Linked DNA regions of Homo sapiens: region 2 is linked to region 1. Evidence: promoter capture Hi-C in 16 types of primary human blood cells and fetal thymus (Javierre and others, 2016). All regions are on one chromosome and are shown on one strand. The core of a region is centred on a gene start or on the middle of the fragment in contact, and the rest is flanking DNA. Distances in the headings are between cores, read along the strand shown.

The links. The method cuts DNA at HindIII sites, captures the fragments that hold promoters and counts their contacts. A CHiCAGO score of 5 or more calls a contact.
Region 2: a contact is called between a fragment that was not itself captured here and the fragment with the promoter of PTPN14 in region 1, in 1 of 17 cell types (total CD4 T cells). The highest score is 9.2, in total CD4 T cells.

What each region holds. Positions count from the first base shown.
Region 1 is chr1:214,546,481-214,553,478 of GRCh38, forward strand. PTPN14 (protein tyrosine phosphatase non-receptor type 14) reads right to left here and starts at 5,122. Exons shown (of 19, transcript NM_005401.5): 1 at 4,703-5,122. RefSeq lists enhancers at 3,785-4,606, 4,607-5,427, 5,428-6,248. The HindIII fragment of the contact is 5,292 bases long and covers 3,080-6,998 here.
Region 2 is chr1:215,520,089-215,526,991 of GRCh38, forward strand. No RefSeq gene overlaps it. Among named protein-coding and RNA genes, the nearest start is that of KCTD3, 44 kb to the right of the region's middle. The HindIII fragment of the contact is 6,428 bases long and covers 1-5,192 here.

The sequences.
Region 1 (6,998 bases), core at 3,872-6,371:
TTCCCTGTGAACGCAAAACTTGTAAGGCAAAGTAGATCAAGTCAGTGGCCCACATGGTATGGCTTCCTAACTTAGGAATACAGTTCAGCACTAAAATCTCAAACAATCTAAACGTGAAGAGGATATTTTTCTACTTAGAGACGATGCTACATCACCAAAGGATCCCTTTCTCATTTTCTCACCAGACTCCTCCCTATTGACCAACATAAAGCATTTACGGGATGGCCAGCTAGGGTTACGGCTCTCTGGATATGCAGTAGTCCTCGGGGTCAAACTAATTGACGAGGCTCAAGATGAAACTCTTGACCTGGGCCTAATTTAGCCCCTAAGGAAACTAAGCTAAATCAACTACATATCAAATTTTACATGTAAGGTTGATCTAAGAATGGCTATGAAATGTTTTTTCCAATTGCAAGGATCCTGAAGAAAATCAAACAAAAGCTTGAGGGGGGAAGAAAAGTCAAGAAACACAGAACCAACAGGAAAAAGGAAAGGAAAGTAAAACAATGTTAATATGTCATTTATAACCCAACCTAGAGCCAGAACTACCCTTATCACACAAAAAGGCACTTAGTCACTATTACCTTTTACACAGCTACTCTGTGTCCTTCATCCACAAGCATTGCATCATATCCTTTAATTCAGAATTATAAATAATTATAAGATTATTTATTTTCATAATCAGCATGCATGCAATATATGGCAAAGGCACTGCTGGTCTGGGCAAGATACATTTCCTCTCCCCTCCTATTACAAAAGTCCAGGTCAGGCCTGCATTTTCCTGGGCTCTCTCCCCGATTCCCCAAAGGGGTAGGATACCTTCATATGATCTCCAGCCCTGCACGCAATCCTGCAGAAAAGATTTAACCAATTCTTTGCCATCCTGTTTCAAGAACACACGCTGCATACCTGCCCTTTTTTCTAACATTGTTCTAACATTGTTCATTCCTTCTAACATTCCCTTCCGCTTTGAGGTTGATACGAAGATCTATGATTTAACGTTTGTCAAATACTCTAGGCTTCTCAGATGAAAGACAACATTAAAGTTCAAATAACCAGTGGCTGGCATTACACTAGAAGTGTTGCAGTTTACTGTTTATATTTGGGCTTCAAAAAGGGAAATCAAGGCTGCAAAGATACAGCAGCTAGCTTTTGTACTCTAGTTAAAGGCAGACAGAGTTATCCTAACATTCTTTAATCAACTAGATTTCAACATTAGAAATACAAGGATCCTTATATAAAACACTGGACCATCATTACAGTAAGAAGTATACAAGGAAAAGGATCTTGTTCTCTGCCCTTCTAATCTCTCAGTGGCTTTCCCTCCTCAAACTTCTCTACTGCCTGGTCCCCCACCTCTCAATTTCCTCTTGTAGGAGGAGCCACATGGCAGCTGCCAGCCAACATGTTTATTTTGAGCCAATAGACTGAAAAAAAAAAAAAAGTCAAAAACAAAGCTTTATGTGTATGTTGACACACATGTGAATTCAGGCTGCTGAAAAAAATCACACACAAAGAGCACATTCATGGCCACATACAAGTCCTTGAACATATAAATAGCCATCCTTGACCTATTCTGTGTGAGGTACTGTTATACAGCATGACACTGAATTCTCCATACATATCCTGAGAGGCCAAATGTTACCAGATCCATTTTGCAGATGAAGAAACTGAGGCTCAGAAGGGCTATGACGTCCATCCAACATCACACAGCTAAAAAATGGCAGCGCTAGAATTCCAACCTAGCTATATTTCAAACTCCCAAACCTGGACCGCCTGCTCCAGCACACTGACAGCCAGGAAAAGCTACAGAATTTGCCACACATACCCCTTGGACCACTCAATAAGCCCTCCATGGGATGCATACAGAGGAAGCGTAAATTAAATCAATTTAAATCCGTAAGGGGAGATCCAAAAGCGTATTTTAACATTAACTTGAACCTCCTCCCTACCAAAGCTTTCGTGTTTGTTTTCCCTCATTCCTTAATTGGCTAATTAAGTATTTCATCTTGTCTTTCTCATGCCTTATCTCTAACAAAGCTCACAGCACTGTTCTCAGGCTTAAAATGAATTTTTTAAAAACACAGCATTTGGTGACTAAGTAATGAAGCTCAAATGCAAGAATTTGATGAAATCCTTGTTCAAAAATGACAAGAATATGGAACCCAGGGGGGCTATAATATGTAATCAAAGGGTTGATGTTTGCTTCCCCGGAGCAAATTTAAACCTCTAATAAGGAAGGAAGGCACTGGAAAATAAAAAATCCTCATAGTTCTTGACACTTAGCCCATCCGTTCAGGGCAAATAAGAATTATTCTAAAAATTCTGATTTTTCTCTGAATTCCTTATGGTGCTTCCCTATTAAAAGCCTAACTGTCCTTTCTATTACAGCTACCAGCATGACACAGTATGCACAAATCTGAATAACTCAAGTGTTAATAATAATTACATGTTTAAGCCAATGATGGAAACTGGGCAAATGTCTGGGATTAGTGGGAGTGGGCTTCTCTTCAGCCATTTCTCTCATGCAGGTCCCTACACCTTCAGGAAAACTTCTGTGAAGGGGCTGTTCCTGAGATAAGAAAAGATGCTGGTAGAGGGGCTTGGATAAACACCCAAAGTTGTAGGAAGTCAGTGTGTTCTTCCCACTCTGATGTACTGGCCTGAGGTCACCAAAAGCTGGATGTCTGCCACCTCAGCCAGGACTCAGCCACTATGAACAATACTACAACACCACTTCAGTCCAGTGAAGAGACACCCTTGAAAGGCAAACCACGTACAGAATGCTACTGCATTGTAAGAAACTTTTCTAGGCAGGATTTGCTGAATCCTGGGCCATTAGTCTACAAAAATGTGCAAGATAGTGTTTTCTATTTTCATAAAGTTTCAGAGAAAAGAACGACTTTAGCACAACTGTGCTAAAGCAATAGTAATGACTTAAAAGCAGAGAAAAGTATAACAAACTTAGTGACATACAGATGAACGAATTTTGCACCTCATGGCCACCCATTCAGACTGGGCAAAAAGGGCATCATGCCATTCAGCTCCCGCTCATTAAGGCTGTCATTTCTATGGCACAAGCTTCAACCTCATCACCAAACAATTAGCTAACTTTATAATACAAGGTCCGTAATGCTGCGGTATTACCACACCTACGGCTGTCAAACAGCCTTTTTAAAAAAGGAATCATTGCTTGAATGTGGGGGACAAAAAAGAAGAATCAATACCATTTTAATGAAACCGAGCATGGGCCAATTAAAATGTAGATGATCATACAACAGCTGCTTGTGGTAAAACAGCAGCAGGCATGGAGGTGTATCCAATTAGGGAGGCCTTGGCTCCTCGGTAAGCTACTTGTGGTTCCCATAAGTGGCTAACGTGCTTCTAGATTTATTTCTGATATTGGGGGTGGAGAGAATGCTATCCCAGCAACACTGCACCAACATGGCCATAAATGCCCCTCAGGCCCCCAGATGGCTAGGGAAACTTTCTGTCCTTCTTGTGTTCACTCTGCACGAGCTGTTTCCTCTGCCTGGAATACACCCTCCAGAGGAGCACAACCTCTATCCTCTAAGTGTAGTGCACCCTTCACCAGGACCAAGCTCGCCTCAGACTCTCACAGAACCCCTCTTCCATGTATTATCATTCTTCACCGGCCTTCAAGTTTCCTCCACTAGGCTGCAGACTCCTGCCCTGTGATCTCATTTAGCATCTTTCTATCCTGTTCCTAGCAGAGTAGAAGCTGGGTTTGTTGGATGAATGAGTAAACTAATCCATTTCAAGAAGTTAACACATTGGTGGAAACTCTGTAACTGCCCGCACCTGCAGTCTAGAGATTCCTCACCTTCACAAAGAACCTGCGACAGCCAGTCCCTAGACTTAAGCGGAAACCCCACAATTTCTGAAATTGTAGGTGGGGATGAGAAGGTTGGAGAACAAGAACCCAAGGAAGTGAGAGGGAAAGGGAGATAGGGGCAGCGTTACCTCACTGCTCTCTCCAAACGAAAAGGTGTAAACCCCATTTACAAGTATTCAAACCTGAGATCTGGGGGTCACGTGGGGAAGGAGAGGCTGTTAATACCTACAACTTTGGAAGTTTGAGGTGAAGACCTGATCTGAAATTGTTTGGCCACAGCTTTTTTTCTACGAGCCAGCTCGACCACCCAAGTAGGAGCCTCGACGCCCAGGAGTTCGGTGGCACCACTGGGGCCTAGTGAGAGGGCAGGAAAACTCCGCTCCCCTCAAGATTCCTTCCCGGTGGTGGTGGGGTGTGATTGGGAGCGTCGGGCAGCTGCATCCCCCTACCGCTGCAGCGACCGCGACGTCGTTCGTCTTTCATCCTCTAGCCCCCAAGGTCTAGGTATCTCTAGTTGCCCTTCCGAGGCCCTCTCTCGTTCCCAAAACGCAGAAGGGAATGGAGAGAGGGGACCAGGGTGTGGGTTTAACCACAAACTCCCCAGACTGCGCTCACCTTCCAGCTCGCTCCCGGGACCAGCTTTGCGCCTCACCGCGGGCAGCTCCCACCGCGAGATAACACCCCTGCGGCCCGGCCACCCCGCGCCCCAGGCTGCCCTGCCAGGCGTCCCGGGGCGCCAATCGCAAGTTGGCGTTGCCAGCGTCTGCCCAAGTCATCTGCAGGGCGCCCGGAGCGCCAAGGCGGCCTCCAACCTCGGGCCCAACTCCCGGCTTGGACGGGGCTTACCTGCTTACATGGCCCCCGTGGCGCCCCGGAGTCCCGCGCGGAAAGGCTGTCCTTCGCGGCGGCGGAGCCGATTCCCCACGGAATTGATTCCAGTGACTGGCGGAGGAGGGGCGAAGGGAAGGAGCCGCAGGAGGCGAAAGGGGAGGGAGGTTTCCGCCGCGATCCCGGCGCGAGAGTCCGAGCAGAGGCGCACCGGGGGAGAAAAGGAGAAAAACCTAAGCACGGGGCTGTCCCGCCCGAGGAGGCCGGGGAGGATGGCTCAGCTGGGAGGGGAAGGAGCGCCAGTGGCCACTTGATGTCTGTCTAGGGCTCCCCGAGGACCTGAGCCAGGAGAGCAGGCGGCTGAGCCCGGAGAAGCACAGCAACCTGCCCCCGAGTCTGCGCCCGCTGCGCTCACTCCGCCGAGAAAAAGTTGGAAAGAACTTTGAGGGGCCGGGAGAGCCAGAGCGGCAGGAAATGCGAGCGGCCGGGAGAGGAGGGAGGAAGGGGCCGTGCGAGTGGGAGGGGACGGAGCAGGCGCCGGCGGCCACGGCTCCCCCACCCCAGAGCCGGGCTCCGCGGCCCTGGGGGCCGGGAGGCGGAGGGAGCGCTGGGCGCGCGGCCGGGGGCGGGGAGGAATGCGGCCCGGGAGGGCGCGCGCCGGGGGCGCCGCGGGCGCGCGCTGAAACGTGGAGCCCCAGCTCCCGAGCTCCCGAGCTGGAGGCGCGCCGTCCTTGGGGACGTCACAGCGCTGGAATCCGAGGAATGCCGGGCTGCAGGAGCTCCTTCTGCAGGCCCGGAGAAGTCGCACACTTTTAATGGGGTAGTTTTGGAAAATGTTTTAAAAGGTGGGGGCCGAGGACGGAGGACCGGATGAAACTCCCTGGAGTAAGAGACGTGGAAGTGGAGAGAGCAAGGCGACCGCAGCCACCCCAACCCTGGGCTGCTCCCGCCGTTGGGGAGAAAGAGGCAAGGCAAGGAAGAGCCCACCTAGACTTCCGAGGACCGCAGAGACGGGGCGGCGGCAGGAACTTGCTCACCCCGACCTACATTCAGAATAGTCCACCTTATATTGGGGAACCCTCCAAGCAGGACGTTTCATGCAGCCACCCCACAGGGGAAAACAGACCAGGAGAAAGTAAGGTGGCCTCACCAAGTAGGCAATCTCAGAGATCTCTCCCTAGAATCTCTGGGTACTGGACCCGGTGTCTTAGCCTTCTCTCCCTGCCCCCTCCCGCCCCGTAGGAATGATAAAAAGCAGCCTGTGTGCTGAGAGTTGGAAAATGTCGTTTTCCCGGTTTGTTCCATGCCACAGAATCGCCCCACCCTGCCTGGGTAGGCACTGGGAGGGAACTTCCTTAGCACTTTCGGAGGTGGAGTTAATGAGACGCAGCTGGTATGATGGAAAAAGCTCGGAGCCAGGCGACTGAACCTGGGTTTTAGGCCCTGCCCGATTGGATAACTGAGGAGTATCCCAGCCCCTGAGATCCTAGGTTTCTGTAGCTGCAAAATTAAATAATTTGTCTAGATTTCTGTGGTCCTTTGCATTGCTACAAACATGTCTTGGGATTTATCTCGGTAAGATTCCAGTCCTTTGTTGAAAAGGGACCTTGAAGTCGTTGGCACACAATGTATTGTCCCAAATCACTTCAGTGTCCGGCAACTCATGCAAAAATTCCTGGCCTCTTGGGGAAGAGAATTGGAAACCAAAAAGCGCGGTGGCTCACACCTGTAATCCCAGCACTTTGGGAAGCCAAAGCTGGGGGATTGGCTGAGCTCAGAAGTTCGACACCAGCCCGGGCAACACGGTGAAACCCCGTCTCTACTAAAATTCAAAAAATGTTTCGGGGGTGGCGGCGTGCGCCTGTAGTCCCAGCTACTCTGGGGCTGAGGCAGGTTAATTGCTTGAACTTGGGAGGCGGAGGTTGCAGTGAGCCGAGATCGCGCCACTGCACTCCAGCCTGGGCTACACGGCCAGACTCCTCTCAAAAAAATAAAATAAAATAAAATAAAATAAAATAAATAAATCCGTAGTGACTCTGATTTTCTTCGAGCATCTGCCAATCTCTAGAACTGTAAATTAGAGAAAACGCCGAGTGCAATGCAAAAGTGATGGAAAGAAAAGGTTGAAGGGAAATCAACTTTCTCACATTTTAAAGGAAATAGCTGTACAGACGTGCTGGGTTTCCAAAGAAAACATTAGGCAGTGCCTGACTGTGTTCCAGAAAGTGTGGAAAGCACTCCCCCATTCCTAGATGAGGAAAGTGAGGCATGAAGAAATTACCTGTCTCACTGAGGGTCATACAACTAGGAAGAT
Region 2 (6,903 bases), core at 729-3,228, 970 kb after region 1:
TTTTTTTTTTTTTTTTTTCCTTCTTCTTCTTCTTCTTCTTCTCTATCACCTAAATAAGCACTGGCCTAGAAATGAGCAATACTGAAGCAAGTGGATTTCACCACTACCAGACACTGACTAACTGACCTCCCTCTTCCACAAGCCATAACTGCAGCTTTGACTGGACAAGACATTAATTTTAATAACTTTATCCTGATAAGAAGACCACTGATTATAGACTGGTTCTGGCCAATTTACAAAGGCTGCCCACTTGAGTGTCTTCATGTTCCTGCTTCACCTTTTGATGTATAGGCCTAATTGTAATACATTTAAATGTTGTCTCCACTTCAAAGTGAACATGGGTTGCATGCAAATGCATGTTTATTTCAGTACACATTCATTAGGACCCACTTCATTTATAGCTCCTCCTATAACCTGTTGAGTATGTATACTTAGCAAACCCATCAGCATAAATCCCTTTTCCACCTTCTCCTCCCACAAAGTGCCTGCTAACTGCTTCTGCCAGAGGCTATGCTTCCTAGCCTCTCAGGATGGGTACCTTGCAGGCCGTAACCCTTTATTTAAAAAAAAAAAAAAAAAATCTCCTTTCCAAATTTATAGACTGTGTGATTTTTAAATTAATAGTTAACTGTTACTTGTCCTTCATATCTCAGCTTTGATGGCAGCTTCTCTTAGCTATCTATTCTGATTCCCTAGACCTGGGTGAGGTGCCCATCAATGGTTCCCAGAGCACCTTGGGAATGAATCCTCTTATTCTTCTATTACCTATTGATTATACTTGCCTGCAGTCCTTGAAGGGACTCAGTCTTGATCTCTGCTGTTGTGCCGGCACCTATTATGGTGTCTAGCATAAACACAAAGTGCTCAAAATTTATTTGTTTAACTGAATACCCCATGGTCTTTTAATGGAGACTTGGGAAAAAAACACACACATTCCACATTATTAGTAAAAGAATAACATTCATTCCATCCACAAATATTTATTATTCTGAGTACCAATATTGCTAAAATGGACAAGGCGAGCAAACTCCCTGCCATCTCAGAACTTTCCGACATCAAACAAATACATGAATATAGAGTACATTATGTGAGATGGTGATGAGTGCTAGCTATGGAGAAAAACCAAGCAGGCTAAGGGAGCAGGCTGGAATGGTGTGGTAGTTCCTTTACATAGGACCGTCACACTCCCTGATGAGTGCCATCTGAACAGAGACCCGAAGGGAGTCAGGGGACTAGCCAAGCAGGTATCTGAATGAGGAGCACTCTAGGCAGAGAGAAAGTCATGTGCAAAGATCTTCATGCAAGAGAGGACTTTGTAGGCTTCCTCATTGTGTGGCTGGAGGAGAACATGCATAGGAACAAAATGGTAGGAAATTAGGTTAAAGAAGTGGCCCGGTCACGTGATGGCTTTAGGCCACTGGGTGTTATTCAGAGTTTGATAGAAATCATTAGAGAAGCATCTCCCTTTGGTGAATCAATTCTACTGAAGTTTTTCTCATCCATCAAATATTTTGTCACCTTAATAAAGCCCTGCTGATTTTGTTGCCAGGCCCTGAGGATCATGTTGTGTGGATGCTTTGGCTCTACCCCAAGCACAGAGCCATTGAAAATTTATTATGCAATTAAAAAGGCTTAGGGAATGAATGAATGATTGGGTGTAGCCCAACATATGAGGCCTGGGTCAATCCTATTCTATTCATGAACAATACTGGCAATTAGAAGCAAGCCTGATGAGCTGTGTTCATTGTGCCATTGTTCCTTCACTCCAGAATGTACTTTCCACATCTGTGTCCCTTTCTCCTACCACTGGAGTCAGAAGTAACTAATTGTACGCAGTGATCCTTCTGTCCTTTGGGTCATGAAAAGAGCACTGCAGTTGAAGTCAGAATACCTGAAATTGTATTTTTCTTTTCTTTTTTGTGACAGAGTTTCACTCTTGTTGCCCAGGCTGGGGTGCAGTAGCACCATCTCAGCTCACTGCAACCTCCACCTCCCAGGTTCAAGCGAGTCTCCTGCCTCAGCCTCCCGTGTAGCTGGGATTACAGGTGCACGCCACCACGCCTGGCTAATTTTTTGTATTTTTAGTAGAGATAGGGTTTCACCATGTTGGCCAGGCTGGTCTCGAACTCCTGACCTCAGGTGATGCAGCCGCCTCAGCCTCCCAAAGTGCAGGGATTACAGGCAGGAGCCACCGTGCCCAGCCTGAAATTGTGTTTTTCAAAGCATGAGTTTTTAAATCAGACAGACCTCAGTTTGTGACAAGTCAGTCAATATTACTTTTCTAAGTTGTAAAATTGCGATGATAATATCTACCTTTAGGAGTTTTGTGAGAATTACGATTGTTAGATTAAGAATTTATCATGATATCCAGCAAACAGTAAATATATAATAGGATTTTTAATTTATAAATTTACATTTATTCTATGTGCTCAAGCATTTGAGGAAATAATTTCAGACTCAACAGATATTTATTATGTTCTGTAAGGAACTTTCCACGGTTGGATGCGCATGATGGTTATTTGTGCCTGTGTCTATTCTTACTCAAGAGTGTGTATTCTTTGAGATTAGAATTACAAGCAGGTAATTTTTCTGATGGTCTGTGTCTGAAAAGGTAGATGCTCAATAAATGTGTAGAGTGTGAGCAACTGGGTCTCACAGATGTCTGTGGGTTTTTTCGGAGCCAGATAAATTCACATGATCCTTCTCCATCCTTCCCTTAACTTGTCAAGGTAAAGAGGGACATGGTGGCCTGCTTCATCCTCTCCATCGCACCAGGGTATCTCTAGGTTAGATTTCCCAAGGAAGTCAGTCTCCAAGATGGTTCACCCTCAAACAAACCTGTGTGTCTTCCTGTCTAGAATGTTTTAGACATTCCCAGTGCCATTGCATATTCTTCCATGTAATTAATTAAGTCTCCAGTGGAACCAGCCTGGCAGCCTGAGAAACATAACAAGACCTGCCCCCAACCCCATCTCCAGAAAGAAAGAAAACTTGAACTACTTCTAAGCAGCCTTTCATTTACAGGGTTTTTTGGGTCACATGCAAATGTAATGGATTCCAGTAATTTGAATATAATATGCCCTCAGTAAGTTTTATTTGTTCTTTGAGTCCATCTCTCCTCAGTTAAGCCTATCATTTTGTTTCTGTTCCTGGTAAGTCATGCGTTTGACAACTCATTATAGCATATGACTGGGGCAGTGCACCTCTGGGAACCAAATCAGCTGGTTAATGCCAGGTTTAAGGGGAATAATAGTCAAGCAGTTTGCTAAAGTCTTCTGGAGTTTGTACTTGTATTACTCAGCAGCTTTGGGCATACATGGGCACGCACACTCTAACACAATCAAAGCGAGAAGCTACAATGTTTTCTGAATTTGGTATCAGAATATCAAGACGATAATTTTCTACTTTTCAATTTTTTGGAACTACTACGTTAATCTTTATGAAAGTTTGTAGTAAATAATTAAAATACTTAGAGATATGTAAGAAAACACAATGAATTCCTCAGGCATAGTGTGATATTCCATTTTATAAAGTTCAATTTAGGGAGAAAATTTGAAATGAAAAATCTTACGTGAGTAAGTAGTGCCACAGTGTGGTTACAATTGATAATTTATTTCAGTTCCTGTGCTTTGAATAACCGATAATCCAAGCTAAGACTTCTGTAATCTAAAAAACTCCCTTCTCTACCAATATCAATGATCCTGACTTCACAGGTCTACACAATCAGTTATATTGCTCACGCATATATTTTCAATAGACCACTTTAATAGCTCACAAAGTACTTCATAGCTATCTTGTCAATTACAAAGGACAGATATTAAAACCTTCATTTTTTAAACAAGAAAAACTGAAACTCAAAATATCTGGCTGTTAATGTTTATAAGGCACTTAAATGACAGAGATGAGACTAAACCTTCAGCTTCTGGGTCCTTGTGAGTACATCTTGATGAATACAAGAACATGTGGGATTAGGGGTCAGAAGTCCAGGGCTGCCAACTAAGCTCTGTCACATGATTAATTGTGTGCTATTAAGCAAGTCACTTAAATCCGTAAGTTCTAGTTCTTTTTCATAAATAGAAAAAGGAAATGGTATTTGCCGTGCCTATCTTTGGAGACTGTTGTATCAATCAAATGAAATATAGTCCATAACAGATCTTTTTACAGACTGTGAAGCACTATAAACATTAGTGTTTTTATTACTTCCTTGCTACCACCACAATATGAAAATGCTTCCACAATAGACTAAGAATTACTAGGAGTAAAGAAAATCCAGTAAACACTGTAACTGTAACCTAAGCTAAAATGCCTGCTTAAATTATTCATTCAAAATTGGGATTTTTATGTCAGCCTGAAAAATACTAATGATCAATTTCTTATTGGTATGCACTCCCTTAAGGATGCAAATTATATTCTTGGTCTAGTGAAGACCCTTCACCATATATAATATATGTATTTTACATGTGTTAAAACAGAATCTGTGGTATAGGAAGTTTTCCCTTATCCTCAACTTTTACTTTAAATGTGGGGCTACATGTGCAGGTTTGTTATATGGGTATATTGCACTCACATAGTGAGCACAGTGCCCAATAGGTGGTTTTTGACCCATGCCCTCCTCCCTCCCCTTCTAGTAGTTTTCAGTGTCTATTGTTCCCACGTTTATGTGCATGGGCGCTCAGTGTTTACCTCCCACTTATAAGTGAGAACATGAGGTATTTGGTGTTCCGTTCCTGCATTAATTTGCTTAGAATTATGGCCTCCGGCTCCATCCATGTTGCTGCAAAGGATATGATGTCATTCTTTTTATGGCTGTTTAGTACTCCATGATGTATACGTACCACATTTTCTTTACCTAATCCACCATTGATGGGCACCTAGCTTGATCCCACGTCTTTGCTATTGTGATGCATGGGGATGAATATACAGATGTACGTGTCTTTATGCTAGAATGATTTATATTCCTTTGAATATATATTCAATAATGGAATTGTGGTTCAAATGGTAGCTCTGTTTCAAGTTCTTTGGGAAATCCCCATACTGCGTTCCACGTGGCTGAACTAATTTACATTCCCAAAAAGGTAGCTTTTAAATACAATTTTATAGTAATTACTGATATTAGATAAATCTTAATAAAAACCTTCAAATGTTGTACACAAAGGAAATCAAGATAGCTCACAGGACTTAGCATTATAACAAGCTTAGATTAGTTAGCTTTTTAAAATTGGCTAGAAGAAAAGAAAACTACCTCTTGTGAAGTAGGTGAAAATTCTAACTTCATAAGATGTTCTTAAAAGCATCATCAAGGTCCTGGCGCAGTGGCTCATGCCTGTAATCCCAGCACTTTGGGAGGCCGAGGTAGGCAGATCACGAGGTCAGGAGATCGAGACCATCCTGGCTAACTCGGTGAAACCCCGTCTCTACTAAAAATACAAAAATTAGCCCGGAGTGGTGGCAGGTGCCTGTAGTCCCAGCTACTCAGGAGGCTGAGGCAGGAGAATTGCTTGAACCTGGGAAATGGAGGTTGCAGTGAGCCAAGATCGCACCATTGCACTCCAGCCTGGGCAACACAGCAAGAGCGAGACTCTGTCTCAAAAAAAAAAAAAAAGGATCATCAAGATGGTATATTTCATGCACTTTTCAGATGCTCTTCAATTTCCATAACTCACCATATTTGGTTTTGCTTACGTCATTAGTTTTTAACCATAAAATAAGTTCTAGAAAGTTCTTAAATAAGATTGTCTACATATTCTATATTACATTATTGTCATAAAATTAACATAATGACTTTAAACTTAAAAACGTTTTCCACATTCACAAAAACAATGTAATTAACTTAGGAAGTTTAAAACTTTGTCTTTAAGCATTGTTTTAACACTTGCATCTGGGTGGGTGCGGACAACATTGGAAAAGTGTGGAGAGGAAGAAGAAGACAGCTTTTTTTGATACATTTTGGACCAGTCAGACAATATCTTAGTCCAATGGGTAGCAGTGTTTATACATATTCAGGTAAGATTAAGGTTCATTCAGCAAACTGCTATTGGTTCCCTGTATGTAACAGGCACCTCTGCCAGGCTAAAGACCCCATTCCCTGTGCTCAGAAGTGCCCAGAGAGATTGGGAGACAGACACATGAATAAACTATTGGACAATGGGCTCGTGCTGTACTGGAGATGTGCACGCAGGGTGCAGAGATGTAGGGAAGAATCACAGAGGAGATGGTCTTCTCTGCCCTTAGGATAAAGGGGAAGTGGAAGACCTGACCAAGAAGGTAACACCTGGGAAACAGGATCTCAAGAAATTCCAAGCCCAAGGATAACAAGTAAAGGTGTGGTTGAAAACAATGTTAGAAACTGGGAGGTGATTCTGTCTAGTGTGTTTGGTAGGCCATTTCTAGGTCTCCATTATGTCTTTTCCATTACTCTGTTTTGTTATCGTGTATCTTTAAAGTGTTTTGCAGCAGAAAATAAAACAAGGAAAAGAATGGTTGAATCACTTTTTAAAAATCATGCATTACATTATTGTGATCCAGGGATATCCTATTATGTGTTTATTCCTAAGTGTAAGACGTGTCTTCAAGCTATTGCATTGGAGAGGTACCGTGTTTGCATTAGAAGACAAACGGCCTAAAAAAGGTGCACAATTTTTGGGAGAATGCTTCCATCTAGTGGTCAAATTGAGAAATTCACTTACATGTATTCGTTATATTTCTTAAAAATATTTGTTAATCTGTTATATACCAAATCAATATGTTTCTGTTCATTAATAGTTAATAATTTCTCATTTACTTTTAACTATTGGAGGATATAACAATTTAATTTTATTTGGCCTGTTGGTTCTCAAGGAGGTAGTGTCTCCAAAGAAAAATAAGATCCTCAAAAGAAGGCCATATTTGTTAAAGCTTTCATAC